Regions from separate parts of the Homo sapiens genome. Here all the other regions are linked to region 1. Evidence: promoter capture Hi-C in 16 types of primary human blood cells and fetal thymus (Javierre and others, 2016). All regions are on one chromosome and are shown on one strand. Each heading gives the region's core, a stretch centred on a gene start or on the middle of the fragment in contact. The rest is flanking DNA. Distances are from core to core; before and after follow the strand shown. Region 1 holds the start of STAG1 (STAG1 cohesin complex component). Region 2 overlaps PPP2R3A (protein phosphatase 2 regulatory subunit B''alpha). Region 3 overlaps PPP2R3A (protein phosphatase 2 regulatory subunit B''alpha). Region 4 overlaps PPP2R3A (protein phosphatase 2 regulatory subunit B''alpha). Region 5 overlaps PPP2R3A (protein phosphatase 2 regulatory subunit B''alpha). Region 6 overlaps PPP2R3A (protein phosphatase 2 regulatory subunit B''alpha). Region 7 overlaps MSL2 (MSL complex subunit 2).

The links. The method cuts DNA at HindIII sites, captures the fragments that hold promoters and counts their contacts. A CHiCAGO score of 5 or more calls a contact.
Region 2: a fragment that was not itself captured here is called in contact with the fragment with the promoter of STAG1 in region 1 in 1 of 17 cell types (M1 macrophages); the score reaches 5.5 in M1 macrophages.
Region 3: a fragment that was not itself captured here is called in contact with the fragment with the promoter of STAG1 in region 1 in 8 of 17 cell types (naive B cells, erythroblasts, fetal thymus and 5 more); the score reaches 6.9 in naive B cells.
Region 4: a fragment that was not itself captured here is called in contact with the fragment with the promoter of STAG1 in region 1 in 16 of 17 cell types (fetal thymus, non-activated CD4 T cells, erythroblasts and 13 more); the score reaches 14.7 in fetal thymus.
Region 5: a contact is called between a fragment that was not itself captured here and the fragment with the promoter of STAG1 in region 1, in 5 of 17 cell types (erythroblasts, total B cells, fetal thymus and 2 more). The highest score is 5.7, in erythroblasts.
Region 6: a fragment that was not itself captured here is called in contact with the fragment with the promoter of STAG1 in region 1 in 3 of 17 cell types (erythroblasts, fetal thymus and non-activated CD4 T cells); the score reaches 6.8 in erythroblasts.
Region 7: a fragment that was not itself captured here is called in contact with the fragment with the promoter of STAG1 in region 1 in 12 of 17 cell types (non-activated CD4 T cells, total CD4 T cells, fetal thymus and 9 more); the score reaches 11.5 in non-activated CD4 T cells.

What each region holds. Positions count from the first base shown.
Region 1 is chr3:136,750,519-136,754,088 of GRCh38, forward strand. It overlaps STAG1 (STAG1 cohesin complex component), which reads right to left and starts at 1,860. Exons shown (of 34, transcript NM_005862.3): 1 at 1,677-1,860. STAG1-DT (STAG1 divergent transcript) reads left to right here and starts at 2,153. Exons shown (of 1, transcript NR_185911.1): 1 at 2,153-3,570. RefSeq lists silencers at 1,184-1,563, 1,884-2,113 and enhancers at 1,305-2,236, 2,124-2,443, 2,237-3,168. The HindIII fragment of the contact is 7,208 bases long and covers 1-3,198 here.
Region 2 is chr3:135,967,768-135,971,337 of GRCh38, forward strand. The region is part of intron 1 of PPP2R3A (protein phosphatase 2 regulatory subunit B''alpha); the gene reads left to right. Among named protein-coding and RNA genes, the nearest start is that of PPP2R3A, 3.8 kb to the left of the region's middle. The HindIII fragment of the contact is 2,582 bases long and covers 341-2,922 here.
Region 3 is chr3:136,049,923-136,053,492 of GRCh38, forward strand. All of the region lies in intron 5 of PPP2R3A (protein phosphatase 2 regulatory subunit B''alpha), which reads left to right. Among named protein-coding and RNA genes, the nearest start is that of PPP2R3A, 86 kb to the left of the region's middle. The HindIII fragment of the contact is 1,382 bases long and covers 1,258-2,639 here.
Region 4 is chr3:136,089,560-136,093,129 of GRCh38, forward strand. It overlaps PPP2R3A (protein phosphatase 2 regulatory subunit B''alpha), which reads left to right. Exons shown (of 14, transcript NM_002718.5): 10 at 1,019-1,108. Among named protein-coding and RNA genes, the nearest start is that of MSL2, 100 kb to the right of the region's middle. The HindIII fragment of the contact is 1,747 bases long and covers 1,156-2,902 here.
Region 5 is chr3:136,110,266-136,113,835 of GRCh38, forward strand. All of the region lies in intron 13 of PPP2R3A (protein phosphatase 2 regulatory subunit B''alpha), which reads left to right. Among named protein-coding and RNA genes, the nearest start is that of MSL2, 84 kb to the right of the region's middle. The HindIII fragment of the contact is 6,501 bases long and covers 1-3,570 here.
Region 6 is chr3:136,129,833-136,133,402 of GRCh38, forward strand. All of the region lies in intron 13 of PPP2R3A (protein phosphatase 2 regulatory subunit B''alpha), which reads left to right. Among named protein-coding and RNA genes, the nearest start is that of MSL2, 65 kb to the right of the region's middle. The HindIII fragment of the contact is 3,281 bases long and covers 1-3,252 here.
Region 7 is chr3:136,150,663-136,154,232 of GRCh38, forward strand. It overlaps MSL2 (MSL complex subunit 2), which reads right to left. Exons shown (of 2, transcript NM_018133.4): 2 at 1-2,076. The coding sequence ends at 485. Among named protein-coding and RNA genes, the nearest start is that of MSL2, 44 kb to the right of the region's middle. The HindIII fragment of the contact is 9,097 bases long and covers 1-3,570 here.

The DNA.
Region 1 (3,570 bases), core at 610-3,109:
TTCCATATTTTGCATCTATTTAAATATTCCTTAGCCTTATCAGAACATCGAAACTGAAGTGGATACAGAAAAATTTCCACTCAAAAGCAGTTCGTTTGTGAAAATGACCACTGGTAGATCACTTGAATTAATTTAGTTTACTCGAAGTACGTTTTAAATATGTAAAGGAAAATGCGTGGCAAAACACCTGTAGATCTTCTACAACTTTATTTGGGTAACAATTTGTCTTATAAGTATTCTTAATCATCAAAAGCAAGGAAATAACATTTCTGCTTCTTTCCATTCCATATTTCCCTACTTGGTTAAAATTTTTCAGTCTGAATTCCTCATACATTATGAATATTAGAACAAGGTACGTTACATTACCATACAATAAACAAGTTATTTTTATTTTCACTCTTCTGTATATTTCCCTAAGTGCTTCACCATCGGAATGTGCAATTTTCTTAAAACACGAGGAAAACTAAAATGTAGAGTCATTCAAATTCCAGATAAGTTACAAATCACACAACTTTGTGCCAATTCAGATACTTTCTCAAGTAAACACTATTTTTGCGAAGATGCAAGTCTTTCTAGTCAGAATCACGAGAATAAACTCTATCCATCTTAACACCAACTTTAACAGCAAATAATTTTTTTTTATGACAAATTGCGTTTTTTTTTTTTGTTTTTTTTTTGTCTGTAAGTGTCCAAAACTATCCTATGACTTATACTCCCGGAGCACGATTCCCTGCAATGTGAAGAGAATCGACAGATAACATTTCAAATGTGGGTAGATGGGGGTGACGTGACAATCCTAAAACCTGAAAATTTCTTAGTACCCATACCATACAAGAAGAACCCAGTTCGGACCCTGCAAACGGGGCTCAGGTCCAACTCCAAGCACTCTAGTTTCCCACCCCGCCCCCACCTCGAGAAAGGAGGGAAAACAACTTTTATTGGCCTCGTCTCTCAGGGGACTGGCAAACTAGCGGGGCAGTGCTTAGGCCTGGACACGTTTCACAAGGAGGCCCCCGTCGGGGGCTGAGAGGGCAGATAGCTGGAAAGCCCAGCATTGATGCATCTCCCCCAGCCGCCACCCCGCTGCCCCACCCCGCCAACAAGAAGCCTGGGCCAGCCGCCCCGCCGAGCGACCCCCCAGGCCCCTCCGCTGAAATGAACTCGTTGTCATGTGACGCCGCCGCCGCTAAAACACCGCAGAAACGCAGGTCGGCAGGCGGCGGAAGGCATTCGCGCCAGCCCGCGTCGGCCCGGCCCCGCTGGGCGCGGGCGACTCCCGAGAGCCCGGGCGGGGGGGGGCGGAGGGCGGGCTTGGCGGCGGGCCCGAGCGCGCCACAAAGGCTTCCGCGCCTGTCGCCGTAGTGCCCGGGCGGGCGGGGGCAAAATTTTTGGTGCCCGCGGGAGGGGTGGCAAGCGACGAAGACGCCGGGGTGCCCACCGCGCCCACAGACGTCTCTCCGGGCACTCGGACGGCCCACGACCGCCGCACCCCGCACAGGCCCGCGCGGCCTCCCTCCCCCGCACGGGGCCCGCGCCCGGCCCGCCCGCTCGCCGCTCGCGCTCTCTCGCTCTCGCCCGGCCTCCATCTTGGATCGGCGCTTCCAGCCCCCGCGCCGCTGCCGCCGCATTCCCCCTCTTTCCCGCCCCCCGCCGCCGTCGCCGCCGCCCGCACTCACCTCAGCTGCCCATCCGGGCGCCGCCGACCATCGACCTAGTTTCCCCCCAAAAGTCTCCGGTGTGTTATTCCCGATGTGGGGGGGTTGTTACGGGGTGGTCGCCGGGGGTTCGGGAGCGGGGGCCGCGCCTTCAACGGAGCTGCAATCCTAACCCGCCATCTGGTGGCATTTTCCACACGCCAATGGCGCCGCTGCAGACTTGGGTCCGGACCGCCCTCTGCTGGCCGCGGTGCTCACTGCCTTGCTGACGGGACGGGCCTGCCCGGAAAGGGGAGGGAGCTGAGGCGCGAGCTAGGGGCCGCGGCAGGGGCGCGCGCAAACGCTTTCCAGTGGGGATTGCGCGCACGCGCACCAGCGGGGCGGGAAACGTGGCCGCTGCGTGGCGGCCCCGCCCCCACACGGAGCGCTCGCGCAGTTCAGCCAATCGCGAGAGGCGTAGGCTTCTGGATAAGGGCGCTGTGGACGGTTCTTGGGCCGCCCGCGGCTGGCGGAAGGACGGCCACGGTGGCGCCTGCGCGTCCGGCTCGCCGAGTTGCCGCCCGCCATTTTTGGAGCTTCTTGGAGATCTAGGCAGGAACCCGCCCCGGGTTCCTTCACCGAGGCTCCTCCCTAGGTCTCAGGGCCGGCGCTTTCCTCTGTTCCCGCCCGGCTCCTGCTGCCCCCATCCGCAGCTCTCGAGACGCCCTGCGGAAACCCGAGGGTGAGGCCGCGCAGATCCCTGCTCCTACTTGGATTTAGCAAGGGCCTCAGAGCTTAGCATTGTATTCGCGATTTACGGCTGACAAGCGCTTTCACCAGGCAAGAGTGAAAAGGTTTCAAAAGGACTATTGGGGACTTCCCTCGCCATTAATCTAGACGAAACACCGCCGGCCCTAGGCCGATTGGCGTCATCCTGCCTCTGTAAAGCACATCTTTCCGTGGTGTCGGCTTTGCATAAGGCGGCAGCATTGGCTAGTTTGTGAGAGGAGAATATAACTAGACTGAGAAGATAGACTCAGCTGTGAAAGTGGATTTCTCCCTCCACAACCTAGGACTACTTTCAGTAGCTCTGAAATACACATGAGAATCTTAGCCTTCTAGATGCCAAAAGAGAAATAATCAGTAAGGTGAAATCATTAACAAACTATTTATGTTTAACGTCGCCTCTTCCCTGATCTCCACCTGCCCGTCCGTGGCCATGGATCCCTACCTTTCACCTGCTTACAACTTTTCACCACAAAAGTGAATCCTTACTCTCCTGGATCATTAGCCCCATATATGACTAACTTCTCTATCGCTATAGCCAACTCTATTTCAGTATGGAATCGCTCAACTACTTTATAGTCTTAAGGGCCTGTCTCCAGTAGGTTACCCCTATTTGTGTTTTCTCTCTCAAGGGTTTGCAAGATGTGTGGCTTTTCGCTGGAGGAAGTCATAACTGACCAGATTGGATATGAATTCGTGACTGGACTCCTACTTATAATTTTCTTGCGTTTTCTTCTAATCTCTGGCTGATCTCCTATTTTCCACAAAGACTGTTTCAAGCTTTCCATGTTGTTAAAGATGCCAGTCCCAGTCCATACTAATAGATAAATTCATCCAGTTTCCTGGGCTCAGAGCTATGGGACTCCAATTCCGGTTTGACCTTGCCTCCATTATAAAATATCTGTGACCACCTCCTGTTCGTGATCCCAAAACTTCTAACCAAATTAACCCAGAACCCTTCTCTCCAAAGCCACTCCCTCTGCCTGAAACTATGCCATCCCTTCCCACCTTCTCCTTCCACCACTACTTTCCTAGCGCCTTATAATGTAAATATGTTCTTATCCACTGTCTTCTTCCTTTCTGTTTCTCAGAAGTTTCTGTTGTCTTGGCTGGGTGCGGTGGCTCACACCTGTAATACCAGCACGTTGTG
Region 2 (3,570 bases), core at 382-2,881, 780 kb before region 1:
AGAAGTGCAATTGACAGCTCTTTTGAGTGTTATCGTCCTCTGAGTCAGAGTTTCTCATTTGTAGTTCTGTTGACATTTTAGGCCAGGTAATTTCTAGTTGTGGAGGGCTATCATGTGCAGCGTAGGATGTTTAGCAGCATTTCTAACCTTTACTGAGGAATAGATACCAGTAGCACTCCACACACACAGTTGTGAACATCAAAAATGCTTACAGACATCGCAAATGTCCCCCAGGAGGACCAAAATCACCCTTAGTTAAGAACCACTGTTGTGAGCAGACTGCTGCCTTAACACTAGTGACGCAGCATTGTCCTCATTTGCTTAGGTGTTTACTATACTAAGCTTGAGGGCGGGAACAGTTATTTATTTAACAGATTTCTGAAGGCCTGTTTTGCCAACTGGACACTAGATTAGGTATGGAAATAGATTAGTAAAAACAACTTTGCATGCCTGGACCTTATAGTCTAAGGAGGGTGACAGATGTATACATGCATAAATATACATTTATCTCATTACGATTGTGTTAATTTCTGGGAGAAGTACAGGCAGCTCTGAGTGCATAAAACAGATGTCCTGATGTAGTTTGGAAACTGGGGAAAGTTTCCATGGGGAAGTGACCTTTGAGGTGGACGGTGAAGGATTAACAGGAGTTACTAGGTGAAGCTCACGGGAACAATATTCCGGGCAGAAGGAACAGATGTGAATACCTTGAGGAAGAAAGGAACAGGGCCGCTTTTGGGAACCCAGAAGCCAGGAACACGGAGAGTGATGACACAAAATGAAGCTAGGAAAATAGGCAAAGGCTGTCCACTAAGCAGTGGTTCTCAGTCCAACACTCTCATCAGAACCACCAGAACTTAAGACCGACGCCTGGGCCCTCCTCCAAGCAAATCAGAGCATTTTTGGTGGGTTCTGCTCCCTCCCCCAGCTACCATTTTCCCTGTCTTCCAAAGGAATAACCACTGATACTAGTTTTGTATATCATTGTAGACATTTTTTGTGGGCATTCAAGGAAATGCATATCTTTCCTCTTACTGTTTTACACAAATGGTAGCATACTGTACACTCTGTTTTCTTAAAAATGTCTTGGGAATCTTTCCACTTCAGTATATAGTTTCCTTATTTTTTTGAATGACTGTACAGTATTTCACTGTATGGATATACCATAGATTATTTAACCATTCCCCCACTGACAGACATTTAGATTGTTTCCAGTAATTTACCGTAAACAGTGCTACGAATATGCTGTTTCATATGTGAATAAATATATTTATAGGGTAAATTCCTAGAAATGGAATTGTTGGGTGAAATAAACACACAAACACATATATTTACATAAGTATATATTTATGTAATGCGTGTATATGTGTATATATTTGTAATTATTTGTGATTATAAAATATTCTGGTCATATTAGAATGCTTTGGAAGGAAACAAGATTGAGTGTGGGAGACAGCTGCCCCTAATTAAGGTTACTGTGGATAACATAGGAGAGAAAAGGTGGTGGCTGAGAGAAAAGAATGGTCGTATTGGAGATGGAGAGAAGTACATATATTCATGAGATATATTTAGGAGGCGTAATTGATAGGATTTGGTGGTTGATATGGTACAAGGGTTGAGAGGGAGAAATGAGATCCTAAGATGACTCCCAGGGTTCTAGCTTGCCCAACCAGTGAATGGTGGTGGTGTTACCTGAAGTAAAGAACATTTAAGGATAAATAGTTTTGAGATGAGTTTAAATCACAGTTTACATTGGGACTGCTGAGATTTTCAAGTGAGAGGTCACATAAGCATTTGACAATTCTAATTCAGAGCCAAGAGCAGAGGGCTAAACTGGAGGCACGAATTTTTAGGTGTAAATTAAAGGCTGTGGATGAAATTATCTAGGGCAGTGGTTGCAAAGCAGTAGCCTACAGCTGAATCTGACTCACAGATGTTTTGCCCATACAGTGGTTTTGTTATTGTTTAATTTTGAATTAGTTGCCAATATTTTAAAATCTGAAGATTTCTCATGAAAAATCCAGATTTGGGGTTTCTCTTTAAAAATGAGAAAATGTAGCACTACTGAGTTGGTTTTCCAATATGGCAGCAATAATTGGAGCTAAGTCACAGATGATCGCAGCTCTTCTATTTCACTACAGAGCCCACCACTCCCTAAAATTATGCCTGGCCCACTTTGCTCATTTATTTCTCTGACTGTAGGCTTTTGAGCATGTGATCCCTGGTCTGGGAAGAGAGCATAGAACAGTGTTCTCATCTTGGTTGCACATTGGAATCACTGAATGATTAAAAAATGCTAATGCTGTGGTCCACCTAAGAAATTTCTTTTTCTGTTTACTTGATCTGATTTGCTGCCTTGGACGAATCTGAGGTGATTCCACTTAGCTGTGGAAGTTGAGAACCACTGACAGAGATTAAGAAAAAAGGGCTCAGGCCCAGCATTTTGAAGTTTAGTAGAGGAGGATAGCCCAGGAAGAGAATGAGAAGTGGCCACAGAGGTACAGTGGAATGACGCCTTGCTCAGAATTAAAGTGTGCAAACTTAACTGAATGCGCTCTACCATGTTTTTTATTAAATGAGAGAGAGAAAAGTTTTATTTACTTGTATACAGGTGTGCGATATTTAACGGGCCATTTAAAGGATTTTCAAGAGTAATTTAAACAATATTTGGTTTTTGTCTTAGCTGTTTCCTTCACAATCTAATTCTAGTTTAAGATGCATCATAAAAGGTGAGAGAAGAATGTTTCAAATAGAGAGGTGTCATCAAGTAAAGATGTGGAACAAAAATGATCTGTTGAATTTAGCAAGATGGAGTCTTTGACCTCAGCAAGAACCATTTTAGATTGGAAGAGGCAGAAACCAAAATGAAGTGGGTAAAAAGTAAGGAAATGGGAGTGGCAAGTGTTGGAAATTCCTTTGAGAAGCTTGCCCAAAAAGAGGAAGTGGTGAGGGAGGATGAGGTGTCTTACATGCCTACAATGTAGGTGTTAGTCTGTTGGTTACTCAAACATTTCTCCTAACTTTTTAGGGATGTAGGTCAATGGTGTCTGATTACCCCTCTCCCACGTTCTTAGGGGTCTTGTTTTGGAGACTACTTTTTACTGAGAAGAAATTTTGCCAGGACTGTTGAAGGGGCTGACTCAGATGTTGGTGATTAGGCCACAAGTTTCTTTCTCAACTGGAAAGCTGTAGAGCTCCTAAAGGCCAGTGGTGATCTGGGCTCCAGTGACCCTGACATCATCCTCCCATTGAGCTGATGAACAAAGACTATATTGTTGGTATGCTGAAAATGGAATACTTGGCTATGTTAGGGAATGTGTATCTAACTGTGAGATTCCCAGGAATAGTTTTTGCAGCTGTATTTTTTCCAATTAACTTGATATTATAGCTTAATTTTCCAGTTGCATGCATGTAAAAACTCTCATACTTTGAAGTATTTATCATTGATGGTACCTGAGGGATATGGATGTAAGTTGGAGATGTAGGCCCTCATTGAGCTCAGAAAGAAGAAAGCACTGAGCAAACTGGTTTCCAAAAAGTTGTGTGAAGGCTTCTACCTCGAAGACTTGG
Region 3 (3,570 bases), core at 699-3,198, 700 kb before region 1:
TAGAATCAAGTGCATGGAGAGCTGCAAAAAACAGACTACACCACCAGACTACAAAGGTAGTGAGGAGAGTAAGAAACACTAAGAGAAAAAAAAGACCCAGAAGCTCTAAATGTACTCTAGTGTGGGAGTAATTTAGGATAATGGCAGTAGTCCCAATCCCATTACCAGATTTCAGCTGAGATTAGTAATTTATTTTAGTAGCATAGACTCTATATGTACTTATCTAGAAAACTCATTTATAGGGAGCAGCTTTCACTGATGGAACCAGATAAAACAATGGCACTGTACTTCTCATTTTTCCTTTTCTGTGTATGAAATTTTAAACTCTGTGTGTTGTATATCCATATATTATACATGTAAAAAAAGGATAAGTCTCAGACCTGAATAAACGTCAGATCTATCAGAAGTATAAGTTTCTGGATTTGAATTTCTAACTTTAGCCTTCGTTTACCAGGTTGGCGGATATTTTTAACCTCAGACCTTCCTGAGGTTTCTCAGCCTGGAGCTGTGCCACAGTTCTGAGGTCTTACACGGTACCAAAGCATTAGGGTTGGGAGTTACTGCTGAGACATCAGCCATCTTTGGCTAGCAGATTCCCTTCAGATCCAGAGGTCTTTGCTGCTTCTGTGCCACGTGTCAAGCCCCAGAACCTTTGGTGAAGATACCCATGGCCCGTCTGCCTAGATGCACACACAGCTGTTTTCTTTTAAGGTTTTAGCTGCACCCCTAGGGTGTTGCCAGGCAGCAGGGTCCCTTTGCTCCTATCACCCACAGACTTCTCTTTCTTTTTCCTGACACTAAGAGGTCTTCTACTCTGCAGAAATCTCCTGCTGCCATGTTCCCTTATGCTTTCCTATCTCTGCCTTCAATTCTCCTTGCTTGTATTGTCTGCTTCCCTTTCAAGTAGGGGTGAGCTCCCTACTCACTACTTCAGGGCAGAGAAGAGAAGTGACCTCAAAATCTTCATGGCTTTTATGGCACTGTGCGTATTGTAGGCTTAAATGCAGGGTCCACAGTCATTTGGCCTAGTTGACCTTTGTTAAGGTTTTAGAGAGAGAGAGATGTCTAACAGAAAGAGCCCACCTGGGGAGTGTTTCTATCTAGGCCTTCCCATGGGAATCAGTTACATATCAGTATTGCACCTGTTTCTACTATAGCATTCTTCATAGCCTGAGATATTGCTTGTTAATATTCTTGTTTTCGTATCTAAATATTTGGTTTTTCTAAGCAGATCACAAATTCTTTGAAGCTAAGATAAGCTTTTCCTGCCTGTTGAATGTGCATCATTATTTTAGGTGTTACAGTAAATCCTTGTTAGCTCTTAGTATGGATACCTAAAGAAGGGCATAAAATACATGGAAATAGTTGAGGTTTTTTTAAGTTGTATTCATGGCTGCCATGTTTTGTTGTTGTTTGTTTTTTTGGAGACGGAGTCTCGCTCTTGTCGCCCAGGCTGGAGTGCAATGGTGCGATCTTGGCTCACTGCAGCCTCCGCCTCCTGGGTTCAATTGATTGTCCTGCCTCAGCCTCCCAAGTAGCAGGGATTACAGGCACCCACCACCACACCCGGGTAATTTTTGTGTTTTTAGTAGAGACTGGGTTTCACCATGTTGGCCAGGTTGGTCTCGAACTCCTGACCTCCGGTGATCCACCTGCCTCAGCCTCCCAAAGTGCTGGGATTACAGGCATGAGCCACCACACCTGGCCATGCCATGATTTTTTAAAAAGATTTTTGCTGAAATATAATCACACAAAACACCCAAATCACAGGTGTCCTAGTCAATGAATTTTCACAATGTGGGCATATCCGTATAACTAGCACACAGATCCAAAAACAGTATTACCAGCACCTGCAAAGCCTGTCATGCTCCATCCCAGTCACTGCCACCCAACAATAACCACTACCCTGACTAATAACACCATAGTACATAGACTTTTAATTATAGTAACAATCTTCCATGTTTAAAATGTGAAGTTTGGTTCTGATTTTATTTTATGCTCAGGGCCCTTGGGCTTGTCTAATTTGCATAATGGCTTTGATTATCCTTAGACTCACCTGCTACATGGTTTTGTTCCCCTAAAAAAAATACTCATGAGAATGAAGATTCTTAATAGTTTTTGGCATTTAATTAAGACCATTTTACCTGATAATATCCAACATTAAATATTCCTATGTTTTGTGAAATCTCAAATCTTCAATATTTGAACTGCATTGTAATAAAACATTAGGTTTTATTACCAGTTCTCTACTGCTCTCCATCCTCACTCTCTCAATCCATTCTTGGCCTTGCTCTGACCCTACAAAGTGCGTCTTTGGGGCTCTCTTGCTGACTAGCTTTTGGTTGGATCTGGGCAGTGGGAAGCATTGCCAGTAAATGGGAGGACAGAGGAAAGAAAAGCTGGCATTTCTTCCCTGCTCTCTGCCTCGGCACAGTAACTATGTCTCTCTACAATACAGCTTCTGCTGGACAGCCCCTTGTCTGTGGTCCTAGTGCCTACTAGGCTCTCCTCCTCCCCTTGTTCCTTTGGCCCTCAGGACTATAACAGTATCCTCCTGTCAGTAGTCTCTGGGTGCCTCATTATTCCCTTGTTTGCTCCCTTCATCCTGCTCACAACTCCACATGTAATCTTTTCGTGAAAGCTTCATACAGTGAATTCTTTTTCCTGTGGGGACCCTATGCTGACTGATGCAGTTCTGAATTTTATCAGAGCTTTAATAAAAGCTTTGACAGGAATGTAAATTAAGTTTAGACTAAGAAAATTAGAAACAGACAACAACAAAATCATAATTATGAGTTAACAGACATTTATACTTCCCTTAAATCTAAGGAGAAATCTTATTTGTATTTAAGAAGTGGACTTGTGGAGTCTTCTGGTAAAAGAGACAAACTAAATAGAGACATTATCCTCCCATTCTTTCCCAAGCCCTTCTGAAGTTAAAGTGTAGAAATTAAAAAGGAATAAATCCACGGAAGCCAATGAAATGGTAGAGAAAATCAACGTACAAGAAATCTTAACATATTTCTTTAAGATAGAAAGTGACCACATGTCTTGTGGGACTGTGGATGGAGCTGGAGGCCATTATCCTTAGCAAACTAATGCAGGAACAGAAAACCAAATACCACATGTTCTCACTTATAAGTGGGAGCTAAATGGTGAGAACTTATGAAAACAAACAAGGAGACAACAGACACTGCGGTCTACTTGAGGGTGGAAGGTGGAAAGAGGGAGAGGAGCAGAAAAGATAACTATTGGGTACTGGGCTTAATACCTGTACCTGTAGTGAAATAATCTGTACCACAAAGCCCTGTGACATGAGTTTACCCATGTAACAAACCTTCACATTTACTCCCAAACCTAAAATAAAAGTTTAAAAAAGATTCTGTGATCTTAAAATTGTAAATAAATAGTTTAATAATAAATGGATTTATATGGATCAAAAAAAAAGAAAAAAAAATAAGTGACCAGAAGTAGGCTAAGAAAACCACAACCCAGAATCAGGAGCTGTGTGTGGGCTCAAGTGGTGAAGTGAGCTCCTGTGCTCATCAAGGCCCAGAGCAGTTGTAAATT
Region 4 (3,570 bases), core at 779-3,278, 660 kb before region 1:
TTGGGACTTTGTTTTTGGTTCCATATGAATTTTAGAATGGTGTTGTTTTTTTTTTTTTCTTAAAAAAAAACTAGTCTGTGAAAAACGACATTAGTTTAATAAGAATAACATTGAATCTGTAGATTGCTTTGGGGAGTATGGCTATTTTAACGATATTGAATCTTCCTATCCATGACCATGGAATGTTTTTCCATTGGTTTGTGTTATCTCTGATTTCTTTCAGCAGAGTGTTGTAGTCCTCCCTGTAGAGATTTTTCACCTCCTTGGTTAGCTGTATTCCTAGGTATTTTATTTTGTGTGTGTGTGGCTATTGTAAATGGGATTGCATTCTTGATTTGGCTTTCAGCTTGAATGCTATTGGTGTATTGAAATGTTACTGATTTTTATACATTGATTTTGTATCCCGAAACTTTAATGAAATTATTATTAGTTCTGAAAGCGTTTTGGCTTAGTTTTCAGGCTTTTCTAGGTATAGAATCATGTTGTCAGCAAAGAGAGATAATTTGACTTTTCCTATTTGGATGTGTTTTATTTCTTTCTCTTGCTTGATTGCTCTGGCTAAGACTTCCAGTACTATGTTGAATAGAGTGGTGAGAGTGGTCATCCTTGTCTTGTTCTTGTTCTTAAGGGGATTGCTTCTAGCTTTTGTCCATTCAGTATAATGCTAGCTATGTGTTTGTCATAACGGCTCTTATTATTTTGAGGTATCTTCCATTGATGCCTAACATGAGTATTAATCCTATATCTAAATACAGGTAACAGCATTTTATCCCAGTGATTATTTGCATTCATATTAAAAGCCAGATTTCTTTTCTTCATATTTGCAAATGCCTTCTGGTTTCACCCTCTAGACCTTTGAAAATAAGATAGGCTGTGGAAGGGTTGCCCTTTATGAGGCATTTAGCATTATAATTTAAAAAATTTTAACTGACATACTACTTTATTTCTTAGCCTATCATCCTGATAAATGGTTCTGAGTAATTGCTCAGGAAATTTTATAACCATGTGTTTTCTTTAGGGGAAAAACAATACAGAAAGAGGGAAGAATGAGCTATGCAGATTTTGTTTGGTTTTTGATCTCTGAAGAAGACAAAAGGAATCCTACCAGGTATGATTTCTAAGTTTCCTTTGCCAAGATGTTAAACACATGCACAAAGCTTGAAAAAGTCATGGTGTATATTATACCTAGTGAGGCCAACTCAACGTGGCAATACTAAGATGAATTAGACTTAGTTTCTGCCGTCTCGGAGCTCTCCGTCTCAGGAGATTGGCACTGAATCCATGTTCATGGCATATCAAGAGAAGTGCTGTTACCCACAGAAACAAAGGTGAAGTGACATGTAAGCTGATGACAAGTAGGGCTAGTAAGCATTCATGTGGAATATGGGAATAGATGCTATGAATTACTTGTTTTATCATCTTACTGGTTGAATGGTAAACCATTACTATTAGAGAGGGAAAGCAAATTGTGGATGACTAGTATATAAGAACACATCCTCAGTCTGCCAGTTGAAATCATCTATGCTTTTCCTTGGCACTCCCAGACATAGCTTGATTGGAGTTATTAATTTACACATTTCTTTCTTTCCATGTCTTGTTTAGGCAAAAAATCTAGATGCCTCGCTTCTTATCCCTACTTTGTGTAACACAACGCACTGTAGTTTGTGCTCAGTACCAAGGGATGGAGGGGTTATAGACCTTGATGGTACTTGCAGGTACAGCTAACTCAACTATCTTAATATTGATTCGAAAAGTTATCTAAATGTTGTATATGTCCAGGTATGGTGGCTCACATCTGTAATGCCAGAACTTTGGGAAGCCAAGGCAGGAGGGATTGCTTGAGGCCTGGAGTTTGAAATCAGCCTGGGAAACATAACGAGACTCCATCTCTACAGATAAATGTTTTAAATAGCTGGGAATGGTGATGCACACCTGTAGTCCTAGCTACTCGAGAAGCTGAGGCAGGAGGATCACTTGAGGGCAGGAGTTTGAGGCTGTAGTGAGCTAGGATCATGCCATTATACTCCATCCTGGGTATAGTGAGCAGGACACCAACTCTAAAAAAATAAATGTTGAATATATTGTTTAGAAGATGTTGAAATAAAAATAAGCCATTTCTTGGAGAGCTTGTTAGATTATTTTTAAATAACTTTGTTTTCCATTTCAAAAGTAATAATTTATTTAGAAAACATGAATGAGCAGAAGAAAAATAAATTTTAATACCAGTAATTTTAATACCCAGAAAAAAATATTAAAAGTTCATATATATGCTACTCTTTTTCATATACCAGCAGAGTAGAGTATCTCTTATCTGAAATTCTTGAGATCAGAAGTGTTTCAGATTTTGGATTTTTTTCAGATTTTGAACTGTTTGTTACACTTACCAGTGAGCATCCCAAATCTGAAATCCAAAATTCTCCAGTGAGTATTTCCTTTGAGTATGAGTTTTGAGTGTCTTGTTGGTACTCAAAAAGTTTTGGATTTTCAGCTGGGTTGCAGTGGCTCACACCTGTAATTTCAGCACTTTGGGAGGCCGAGGTGGGCAGATCACCTGAGATCAGGAGTTTGAGACCAGCCTGGCCAACATGATGAAACCCTGTCTCTACTAAAAATGTAAAAAATTAGCCAGGCGTGGTGATACATGCCTATAATCCCAGCTACATGGGAGGCTGAGGCAGGAGAATTGCTTGAACCCAGGAGGCAGAGGTTGCAGTGAGCTGAGATCGCACCATTGCACTACAGCCTGGGTGACAAGAGCAAAACTCCATCACCAAAAAAATATATATATTAAAGATCTAAATGAAATGAAGACATCCCATGTTCATGGATCATTGTTAAGATGGCAGTAATTCCCAAACTGATCTACAGATTCCTAACAAAATATTAGTTAGTTTGAGTCAAAAGCTTTTTTTGTTTTTCGATGGTTTTTATTTTTTTTCCAGAAATGGAAAAGCTGAATATTAAATTCCTATGGAAATACAAAGGGACCACAGTAACCAAAACAATGCTGAAAAAGTACAGAAAAAATGTAGGACTCATATTTCCCTATTCCAAAATATTTCACTACAAAGTGAAAGTAAACAACTCTGTGTGGTACTCGTATCATGATGGACATAAAAATAAACAAAATTGAATTGAGAGTTCAGAAATATATCCTCACATTTAGGGCTAATTGATTTGCAACAAGGATGCTGGATGCCAGGACGATCCAATGGGGAAAAAAAACAGTGTTTTTAATAAATAGTGCCGGAACAACTGGATATCATACAAAATAATATTAGGTTGGTGCAAAAGTAATTGTGGTTTTTGCAATTTCTTTTGGTGGCCAAAACTGCAATTACTTTTGTACCAACCTTACCTTTGGACCCCTAGTTCACATACTACAAAAATTAAGTCAAATGGATCACAGCCCAAAATGTATGAGCTAATGCTATAAAAAATTCAGAAGAAAATAGAGGAGTAAATTTTCACGACCTTGGCTAGGCAGTTTCTTAGATGTGACACCAAAAGCATAAGTATCAAAAGAAAAAGTCAATGAATTGGACTTCATCAAAATTTTAAATTTTTGGC
Region 5 (3,570 bases), core at 288-2,787, 640 kb before region 1:
CTTATACCCTTGGAAGGAGACACAATCAGAACAAGACATCAAAATGAGCATATTTACTATTTTCAAAGGAATAAGAGAGAATATCACACTCCTAAACCAACACTAGAACCAGTTTCTTAGAAATGAAAGTTTTATTAAAAAAAAAATGCAGCCATTGGACTGAATAATAGAATGGAAAAAACTGAAAAGTTTTTGATTTGGGATACTGGCGTAAGAAATCCTCTTTGGAAGCAATAGAAATAATAGCTTAATAATTCCGAGAATTTTAGTTGTTTGAGCAAATAAAAAGATACACAGGAGAAGGAATCAGCAATTTTTTTCTAACCAGTTATAAATACTTGAGGCTTTGTGGGCCTCTGCCACAACTAAGCAGCCATTGATAATATGTAAGCAAGTGTATGTGGCTATGTTCCAATAAAACTTTAGTAACAGACACTGAGCTATTCATTTCATATTATTTTCATGTCACAAATATTCTTTTGTTTTTCAAACTTAAAAATGTAAAACTATTTTTAGCTCACAGGCTGTACCAAAGCAGATGGCAAGATAGGTTTGGCCCACAGACTATAGTTGTCAACCTCTGTGAGTGAAATTTCAGAATACGAAAGATAGGAAAGGTCTGAAGATCTACCAGAAAGAAAAAAACATTATCCATAAAGTGTACACAAAAAGAAATGGAACAAAATTATTCAAGTACTGCAAAAAAAATAACTACAAACCTAAAATTCTGTTCTTACTCAAATGTGAGGGACAAATAAAGACATTTTCAGGCTTGTAAAAAGAGGTGCAAAAAGTATACCACAGAATATCTCTGAAACAAATATTAAATGATATTCTTCAGCAAGAAGGTAAATGGATCCTAGAGGAAACAGTGGGAGGAAAGAAGCAATTGTGAGCAATAAAAATAGTAAAAATTATTCTTAGGACTAAATAAGTATTGATCACAGATATATAAGAGAGAAAAAGGAATTGGAGTAATATCCTATGGTTCTTATTTGTATAAGAGTAGAGAAATATAGACATTGATAAAGTTGTATTTCTCCAACAATGGTTAAAGTATGTCTGTTAAAAATTTAAGATATTTTCACTAGAAGAATAAAAATAAAATGGAAAACTTTCATATCAGTTTCAGAAAAAGGTTATTAACTGAAAAAAATTGAGTAAAAACTCAAACTACTTGAAAGTACATTAATCAGCATTCTTCTGGTGGCAAGTTACCTAAACTCCGCTCAAAGTAGCAATAAGCCAAACTTCTTCATACATACAAACTAGAAAACTTAGAAGAAATTGATAAATTCCTGAAAACATACAACCTCCTAAGATTGAACCAGGAATAAACCGAAACACTGAACAGACCAGTAATGAGTTCTGAACTTGATCAGTAATTAAAAAAAAAAAACTACCAATCAGATAAAACCCTGGACTAGACAGATTCACAGCCAAATTCTTCCAGATGTATAAAGAAGAGCTGGTACCAATCCTGCTGAAATTATTTCAAAAAATCAAGGAGGGACTCCTCTCTAACTCATTCTGTGAGGATAGCATCATTCTGATACTAAAACCTGGCAGACACAATAAAAAAAACTTCAGGCCAATATCCTTGATGAACATACACACAAAAACCCACAACAAAATAGTAGCAAATTAAATTCAGCAGCACATCAAAAAGCTAATCCACCACAATCATGTAGGCTTTATTCCTGGGATACGAGGTTGGTTCAACATATGCAAACCAATAAATGCAATTCGTCACATGAATAGAACAAAAAACAAAAACCACATGGTCATCTTAATGGACACAGAAAAGGCTTTTGATAAAATTCAGCACCCCTTCATGTTAAAAACCCTCAACAAACTGGCATCTAAGGAACATACCTCAAAATAATAAGGGCCATCTATGACAAACCCACAGCCAGCGTCACAATGAATGGGCAAAAGCTGGAAGCATTCCCCTTGAGACCCAGAAGAAGATAAATATGCCCATTCTCACCACTGCTATTCAACATAGTGATGGAAGTCCTATCCAGAGCAATCAGGGAACAGAAAGAAAACTCATCAAAATAGGAAGAGAGAAAGTCAAGCTATCCGTCTTTGCAGATGATATAATTCTATACCTAGAAAACCCATAGTATCTACCCAAAGGCTCCTAGATCTGATAAACGACTTCAGTAAGGTTTCAGGATACAAAATCAGTGTACAAAAATCAGCAGCATTTCTATACACCAACAGCATTCAAGCTGAGAGCCAAATGAAGAGCACAATCCCATTTGCAATAGCCACAAAAAGAATAAGATACCTGGGAATAAGGGATGTGAAAGATCTCTCTACAACAGTAATTACAAATCACTGCCAAAAGAAATCACAGACAACATTAAAAAATGGAAAAACATTCTATGCTCATGGATAGCAAGAATCAATATTGTTAAAATGACCATGCTGCCCATTGTGCTCGTGGACAGGAAGAATCAATATTGTTAACATGGGCATACTACCCAAAGCAATCTACAGATTCAGTGCTATTCCTATCATACTACCAACATCATTTTTCAAAGAATTTGAAAAAAACTATTACAAAATTCATATGAAGCTGGGCGCGGTGGCTCATGCCTGTAATCCCAGCACTTTGGGAGGCTGAGGCAGGTGGATCACCTGAGGTCAGGAGTTCAAGACCAGCCTGGCCAACATGATAAAACCCCGTCTCTACTAAAACTACAAAAATGAGCCAGGTGTGGTGGCAGACACCTGTAATGCCAGCTACTCGGGAGGCTGAGGCAGGAAAATCGCTTGAGCCCAGGAGGTGGAGGTTGCAGTGAGCTGGGATCACACCACTGCACTCCAACCTGGGCAACAAAAGAAAAAAAAAATCATATGAAACAAAAAAAGCCCGAATAGCCAGAGCAACCCAAAGCAAAACAACAAAGCCAGGAGCATCACACTACCCAATTCAAACTATACTACAAGGCTGCAGTAACCAAAACAGCATGGTGCTGATACAAAAACAGACACACAGACTGCGTGGAACAAGATTATATGGAACACCAGTGGAACAGATTAGAGAACTCAAAAATGAAGCACACCTACAACCACCTGTTTTTTGACAAAGTTGATAGTAAGCAATGAGGAAAGAACTCCCTATTCAATAAATGGTGCTGGCTAATCATATGCATTAGATTGAAACTGGACCCCTTCCTTTCACCATATACAAAAGTCAATGCAAGATAGAATAAAGACTTAAATGTAAGGCTGGCCATGGTGACTCATGCTTGTAATCCCAGCACTTTTTGGGAGGCCAAGGCGGGAGGATCACTTGAGGCTAGGAGTTCGAGACTAGCCTGGTCAACATGGCAAAACCCTATCTCTACTAAAAATACCAAACAAAAACAAAACAGTGTGGTAGCACTTGCCTGTAATCTCAGCTACTCAGGAGGCTGAGGCACAAGAAGCACTTGAACCTGGGAAGTGAAGGTTGCAGTGAGTTGAGATCGCACCACTGCACTCCAGCCTGGGCAACAGAGCAAGACCCTGTGTCAGAAAAAAAAAAAAAGAGAGAGACTTAAATGTAAGACCTAA
Region 6 (3,570 bases), core at 362-2,861, 620 kb before region 1:
ATCCCTGGGATGCAAGCCTGGTTCAACATACGCAAATCAATAAATGTAATCCATCACATAAACAGAACCAATGACAAAAACCACACGATTATCTCAATAGATGCAGAAAAGGCCTTCAACAAAATTCAACAGCCCTTCATGCTAAACACTCTCAATAAACTAGGTATTGATGGAACATAATCTCAAAATAATAAGAGCTCTTTATGACAGACCCACAACCAGTATCATACTGAATGGGCAAAAACTGGAAGCATTCCCTTTGAAAACCGGCACGAGACAAGGATGCCCTCTCTAACCACTCCTATTCAACATAGTATTGGAAGTTCTGTCCAGGGCAGTCAGGCAAGAGAAAGAAATAAAGGGTATTCAGATAGGAAAAGAGGAAGTCAAATTGTCCCTGTTTGCAGATGCCATGATTGTATATTGAGAAAACCCCATCGTCTCAGCCAAAAATCTCCTTAAGCTGATAAGCAACTTCAGCAAAGTCTCAGGATACAAAATCAATTGTGCAAAAATCACAGGCATTCCTATCTACCAATAACAAACAGCCAAATAATGAGTGAACTCCCATTCACCATTGCTATAAAGAGAATAAAATACCTAGGAATCCCACTTACAAGGGATGTGAAGGACCTCTTCAAGGAGAACTACAAATCACTGCTCAATGAAATAAAAGAGAACACAAACAAATGGAAGAATATTCCATGCTCATGGATAGGAAGAATCAATATCATGAAAATGGCCATACTGCCCAAAGTAATTTATAGATGCAGTGCCATCCCCTTCAAGCTACCAATGACTTTCTTCACAAAATTGGAAAAAACTACTTTAAAATTCATATGGAACCAAAAAAGAGCCTGCATTGCCAAGACAATCCTAAGCAAAAAGAACAAAGCAGGAGGCATCATGCTACCTGACTTCAAACTATACTACAAGGCTTCAGTAACAAAAACAGCATGATACTGGTACCAAAACAGATGTATAGACCAATGAAACAACAGAGTCCTCAGAAATAACACCACACATCTACAACCATCTGATCTTTGACAAACCTGACAAAAACAAGAAATGGGGAAAGGATTCCCTATTTAATAAATGGTGCTGGGAAAATTGGCTAGCCATATGCAGAAAGCTGAAACTGGATCCCTTCCTTACACCTTATACAAAAGTTAATTCAAGATGGATTAAAGACTTAATTAAGTTAGACCTAAAACCATAAAAACCCTAGAAGAAAACCTAGGCAATACCATTCAGGACATAGGCATGGGCAAGGACTTCATGATTAAAACACCAAAAGCAATGGCAACAAAAGCCAAAATTGACAAATGGGATCTAATTAAACTAAAGAGCTTCTGCACAGCAAAAGAAACTACCATCACCATCAGAGTGAACAGGCAACCTACAGAATGGGAGAAAATTTTTGCAATCTACCCACCTGACAAAGGGCTAATATCCAAAATCTACAAAGAACTCAAACAAATTTACAAGAAAAAAACAACCCCATCAAAAAGTAGGCAAAGGATATGAACAGACACTTCTCAAAAGAAGACACCTATGCAGCCAACAGACACATGAAAAAATGCTCATCATCACTGGTCATCAGAGAAATGCAAATCAAAACCACAATGAGATATCATCTCATGCCAGTTAGAATGGCAATCATTAAAACGTCAGGAAACAACAGATGCTGGAGAGGATGTGGAGAAATAGGAATGCTTTTACACTGTTGGTGGGAGTGTAAATTAGTTGAACCATTGTGGAAGACGGTGTGGCGATTCCTCAACGATCTAGAACTAGAATTACCATTTGACCCAACAATCCCATTACTGGGTATATACCCAAAGGATTATACATCATGCTGCTTAGACACATACACACATATAAACATATTGTGGCACTATTTGCAATAGCAAAGACTTGGAACCAACCCAAATGTCCATCAGTGATAGACTGGATTAAGAAAATGTGGTACATATACACCATGGAATACTATGCAGCCATAAAAAAGGATGAGTTCATGTCCTTTGCAGGGACATGGATGAAGCCGAAAACCATCATTCTCAGCAAACTGCCACAAGGACAGAAAACCAAACACCGCATGTTCTCACTCATAGGTGGGAATTGAACAATGAGAACATATGGACACAGGGCGGGGAACATCACACACCAGGGCCTGTCAGGGGGTGGGGGGGGCTGGGGGAGGGATAGCATTGGGAGAGATACCTAATGTAAATGATGAGTTGATGGCTGCAGCAAACCACCATGGCACATGTATACCTATGTATCAAATCTGCACGTTGTGCACATGTACCCTAGAACTTTAAGTATAATAAAAAAAAAACGAATGCCTTTTTCCTGAGATCAAGAACCAGGCAAGGATGTTTCTATTCCTCACTGTTTCTACTCAACAATTGTAACTGGGGGGTCCTAGCCAGGGCAGTAAGGCAAGAAAAAAACTTTTTAAAGGCATTCAGATTGGAAAGGAAGATGTAAAACTGTATATTCACAGATGATGTGACCTACAAATTGAAAACTAAGGAATCTACATAAAAGATACCAGTGCTATTAAGTGAATTAGCACAATCTCAGAATACAAGCTCAATACACAAAAATCAGTAGTACAGTATTTCTATATACTAGCAATGAGCCCCTCCAGTGATGAAATTGAAATAAAAAGAATAATTCTATTCACAGTCATATCAAAAAGAATATGAAAAATAGGAATAAATATAATAAAATAATAATACTTGTACAATGAAACTAAAAAAACAATGCTGAGAGAAATTAAAGAAGACCTAAATAACTGGAAAGATTAGAAGGCTCAGCGTTGTTAAAATGTCAATTATCCCCAAATCGATGTACGGATTTAACATAATCCCTATCAAAATCCCGGCAGACTTTTGGTGTAGAAATTAGTAAACTAATCCTAAAACTTGTATAGAAAATGAAAAATATCTAGAATAGCCAAAACACTTTTTTAAAAGAACAAAGTTGAAGGACTAGATTACCTGATTTCAAAATGTACTGTAAACCAATCATCAAGACATTGTAGCACTGGTATATATATACACAGAGATCAGTGTAACACTCCAACTAATTTTCAACCAAAAGAGAAAAGATAGTCTTTTCAAAAATGATGCTAAAATAATTGGATATCCATGTGCCAAAAAGAACCCCAATCCATATCTTGTGCTAAATATAAAAATAATTAAAAAGGAATCATAGAACTAACTGTAAGGGCTAAAACTACAAAGCTTCTGGAATAAAACAAAGGAAAATCTTTGTGACCTTGGGTTGGGCAAGAGTAATTTTTAAAAATTGATACATTGGACTTCCTTCAAAATTAAAAACGATTGCTCTTCAGAAGACACCATTAAGAAAATGAAAAAACAGACCAGGAGAAAATATTTCCAAAACATTCTGATAAAGAACTCATATCCAGAATATGTAAAGAACTCTAAATAACAAAAAGACTAATATCTCAATTTTTTAAATAGAACATGTGAATACACACTAAAAAGGAGGTACAAACAGTAAATAAGTGTATGAAAAGATGTTCTGTATTATTAG
Region 7 (3,570 bases), core at 620-3,119, 600 kb before region 1:
CAAAGGTTGAGCTGGACACATCAGCTTTCCAACAGGAGAAACATCAATGACATCTGAAGGCAGCACTGAGTTTCCTGAACTAATGGCTACTTTTCCACAAAAAAATTAGCACAATCTTTATGGACTGACTAGATACCACTTCCTTACATTTAATCATAAACTTTGATTATGCACAAAGCATGGCCATAAACAATGAGGTTAATGTTATTTTTCTTGCCAAAGTTCATTTTGTATAAATCAGTTGCATCAGCTTTGTTCTCAAACTATGAGGTTCTGTAAGAACTAAGGACATATAGTTGTAGGGTTACTCCTCCATTATCTGCAAACTATTTCCCCGACACTAACACATATAACTTAGCAATGAAAACACTTGATACAAGTGATCTATATGCAGGAGCTCCGGCAAGTTAAACCAACAGAACCATAGCTGCCGTAAAACTGTAGCTATTTCCCTACCAGGAGTAGGTTTAAAAGACCCACTGATTTAACAGTCGAATCTCATGTCTATAGCTTCATCCAAACTTTTATCATCATGTGTACTGGCAGCTAAAAACGTCGTTACTGGGGACCCTGTGACATTTATTACACTGGTGCTGGTACTAGCGTTACGCACAGCAATGCTAGTCACGTTAATGCCCAAAGTGAGCCTGGTCTGCTCCAAGGCCTTTTCTGGCACGGCAAATGCCTCCAGCTTCTTCTCCCCATTGGCCATATAGGAGTTTTGGCAGCCACGACATATACAATCTAAGCAGGCTTTGCGGTTAGAGTAGCAAGGGCAGCGTTGGCCTCGGCATGTAAGAACACTTGGATTTTGAGTAGCACGCCCACATTTACACCCTTTCTTTTCCTGGGGTTTTTTGTACACAGTCTTGGTAGGACTTCCTGGCATAAAATGATGACTAGGAATCTTTTCCTTTACTGCTTTGTCTTTTTTAAGAATACCTGGCTTGGTTTTAGAGTGAGATTTCTTGGATCCATGTTCATGACTCTTTTTCATGCTTTTAGTAGATAAAAGTACAGTTTTGCTGATTTTAGGTGTTGTGCCTCCATTGGGAACAGTTGCTATAGGTTGAAGAGAAATTTTGCTCTCCCGTTTCACTGTCACAGGAGCAGATGCCCCCAGTGTTGGGCCTCGGATAATGGTAGAAATTGGAAGTGGCTGAACTTTCTCACTGTCACTCTCTGATCTGGATCGTTTTCTATTCAATTTTGCTATCTTCGGAGTTGCTGCTGTACATGATAACCCATGAAGTGCAGGACTGGTGGACATAAAAACATTATGGCTAAGAGACTGGGAAGAAAGCTGCAGAAAAGGTCCATTGGATACAGTGGCTTCCAAGTTCGGCTGCAAATTAGGGCAACAGACCTCTGTATTTGAAACAGTTTCTAAGCTGCGGAGTACTTCCTCAACACTCAGTAACAGAGAGTCTCCAGGTTTTATATCTTCACTGAAACTGCAGATATCAATGCCTGTGGAACATAAGTCAGTGGCTACTGTGTCACAAACGGGTGGCAGGCTGTCAGACAGATCCTCAGTTTTTATGTCAACAGTATTACATACGTCAATCGTATTTGAATGTTCAGGTGAAGGAATATTTATACCAAATCTATCTATTGAAAGCCCATTATAAGTAGGCAAACCATTGATAACAGAACTGCCAATAGCAATGCTGAGGGTGCTTTCAGACATTGGAGATAAACTAGCTTGAGGATCAGTTGTGGGTTCTGAGGTTGAAGGTAAAGGGGAATGTGTCAAACACAAAGTAAAGGATGAATCTGAGGGTTTTTCTGTCTCCTCACAAAACAATGATCCATCATTAAGCAAAGCCAAAATATCAGAAGAACAGTCAACTGCTTCTATTATATCCCGTGCCAGTGTAGTCTGTGTTATATACTCGCATAGTTTTTTGTAGCAGTTCACTAGGATGCTTAACTGCTTGTTTTCCTCAAACTGCTCATAGTCTTTGCACCAGCTACAGGAAGGTTTCATCATCATTTTCTTGCCTTTACAAGTTTTGCAGACATAATGTTGGCAGGTGGAGTTGGTGGGTGCAATAGGATCTTGTAGCAAATGTCCTAAGGGGGAGAAGGAGGAAAGCAAAGATTTTAGTAAAATAAATTTACCATTTCATAAACTGAAGTTTAGATGACATAAGTAGTCTATCAAAATTGAGATGAATTAAACTCACTAGACCAGATAACAGAAAATATATCTTAGAAGAAACGGAAGAATCTTCAATTAGCTCGCTTGATTTCATGCCATATTCCCCATTCAGTTATCTCAAACCAAAATCATCCTTGATTCTGTGTCTCTCTCCCCAAGCAATACGTTCTGGTCCACCTTCTTATCCTCTTCCTCCAAAGGCTATAAAGTTAAAGAGGTGAAGATCAGACACCAGAAGCACAAACTAGGGTTAAAACCCTTTGGATAGCCAGGTGTGGTGGTGTGTGCCTGTAATCCCAGCTATTCAGGAGGCTGAGGTGATGGCTTGAGCCCTAGAGTTCAGGCTACGGTGAACTATGATCTTGCCACTGCACTCCCGCCTGGGTGACAAAGCGAGACCCTGTCTCAAAAACAAAACCAAAACCCTTTGGACCTCAACCTAACACAACATGGCAATGCTACAACATGCTGAACAAAATCATATTGATTATTTTTTGCTGGACACTGGGGAAACAGATATGAGTAAGAGAGATTTAGTCCCTGCCCTCATAAAAGATAGTCTTGAGGGCATTCATCAGTAGAAAAGTATCTTCACAGAAAAAAAAATTTTTTCAACCAGTTTTTAATGCATATATACTAATCATAAACTTTAAAGAAAAAAGATCAAAATGTCATTTCAGGCCGGACACAGTGGCTCATGCCTATAATCCCAGCACTTTGGGAGGCTGAGGTGGGCGGATCACCTGAGGTCAGGAGTTCAAGGCCAGCCTGGCCAACATGGTAAAACCCCATTTCTATTAAAAATACAAAAAAATTAACCGGGCATGGTGGTACGCACCTGTAGTCCCAGCTGCTAGGGAGGCTGAGGCAGGAGCATCACTTGAACCCAGGAAACTGAGGTAGCAGTGAGCTGAGATCACACCACTGCAATCCAGCCTAAGCAATAGAGCGAGACTTAGTCTCAAAAAAAAAAAGGCCAGGTGTGGTGGCTCATGCCTGTAACCCCAGCACTTTGGGGGGCTGAGGTGGGCAGATCACCTGAGGTCAGGACTTTGAGACTAGCCTGGCCAACATGGTGAAACCCTGTCTCTACTAAAAACGCAAAAATTAGCCGGGCAGGGTGATGGGCACCTGTAATCCCAGCTATTCAGGAGGCTGAGGCAGGAGAATCCCTTGAACCCAGGAGGCGGAGGTTGCAGCGAGCTGAGATTGTGTCACTGCACTCCAGCCTGGGCGACAAGAGCAAAACTCCGTCTCATTTAAAAAAAAAAAAAAAGGAGTTTCAGTAGGAGAGAACTATGTTCAACTACATTAAAACAAAGAAAAAAGGAGTACTACTCAACTCAAATTCTTCTAGAAAAAAATACAAAATGGAAAAAATTATATTTAAACTTATTAAAGAAAAC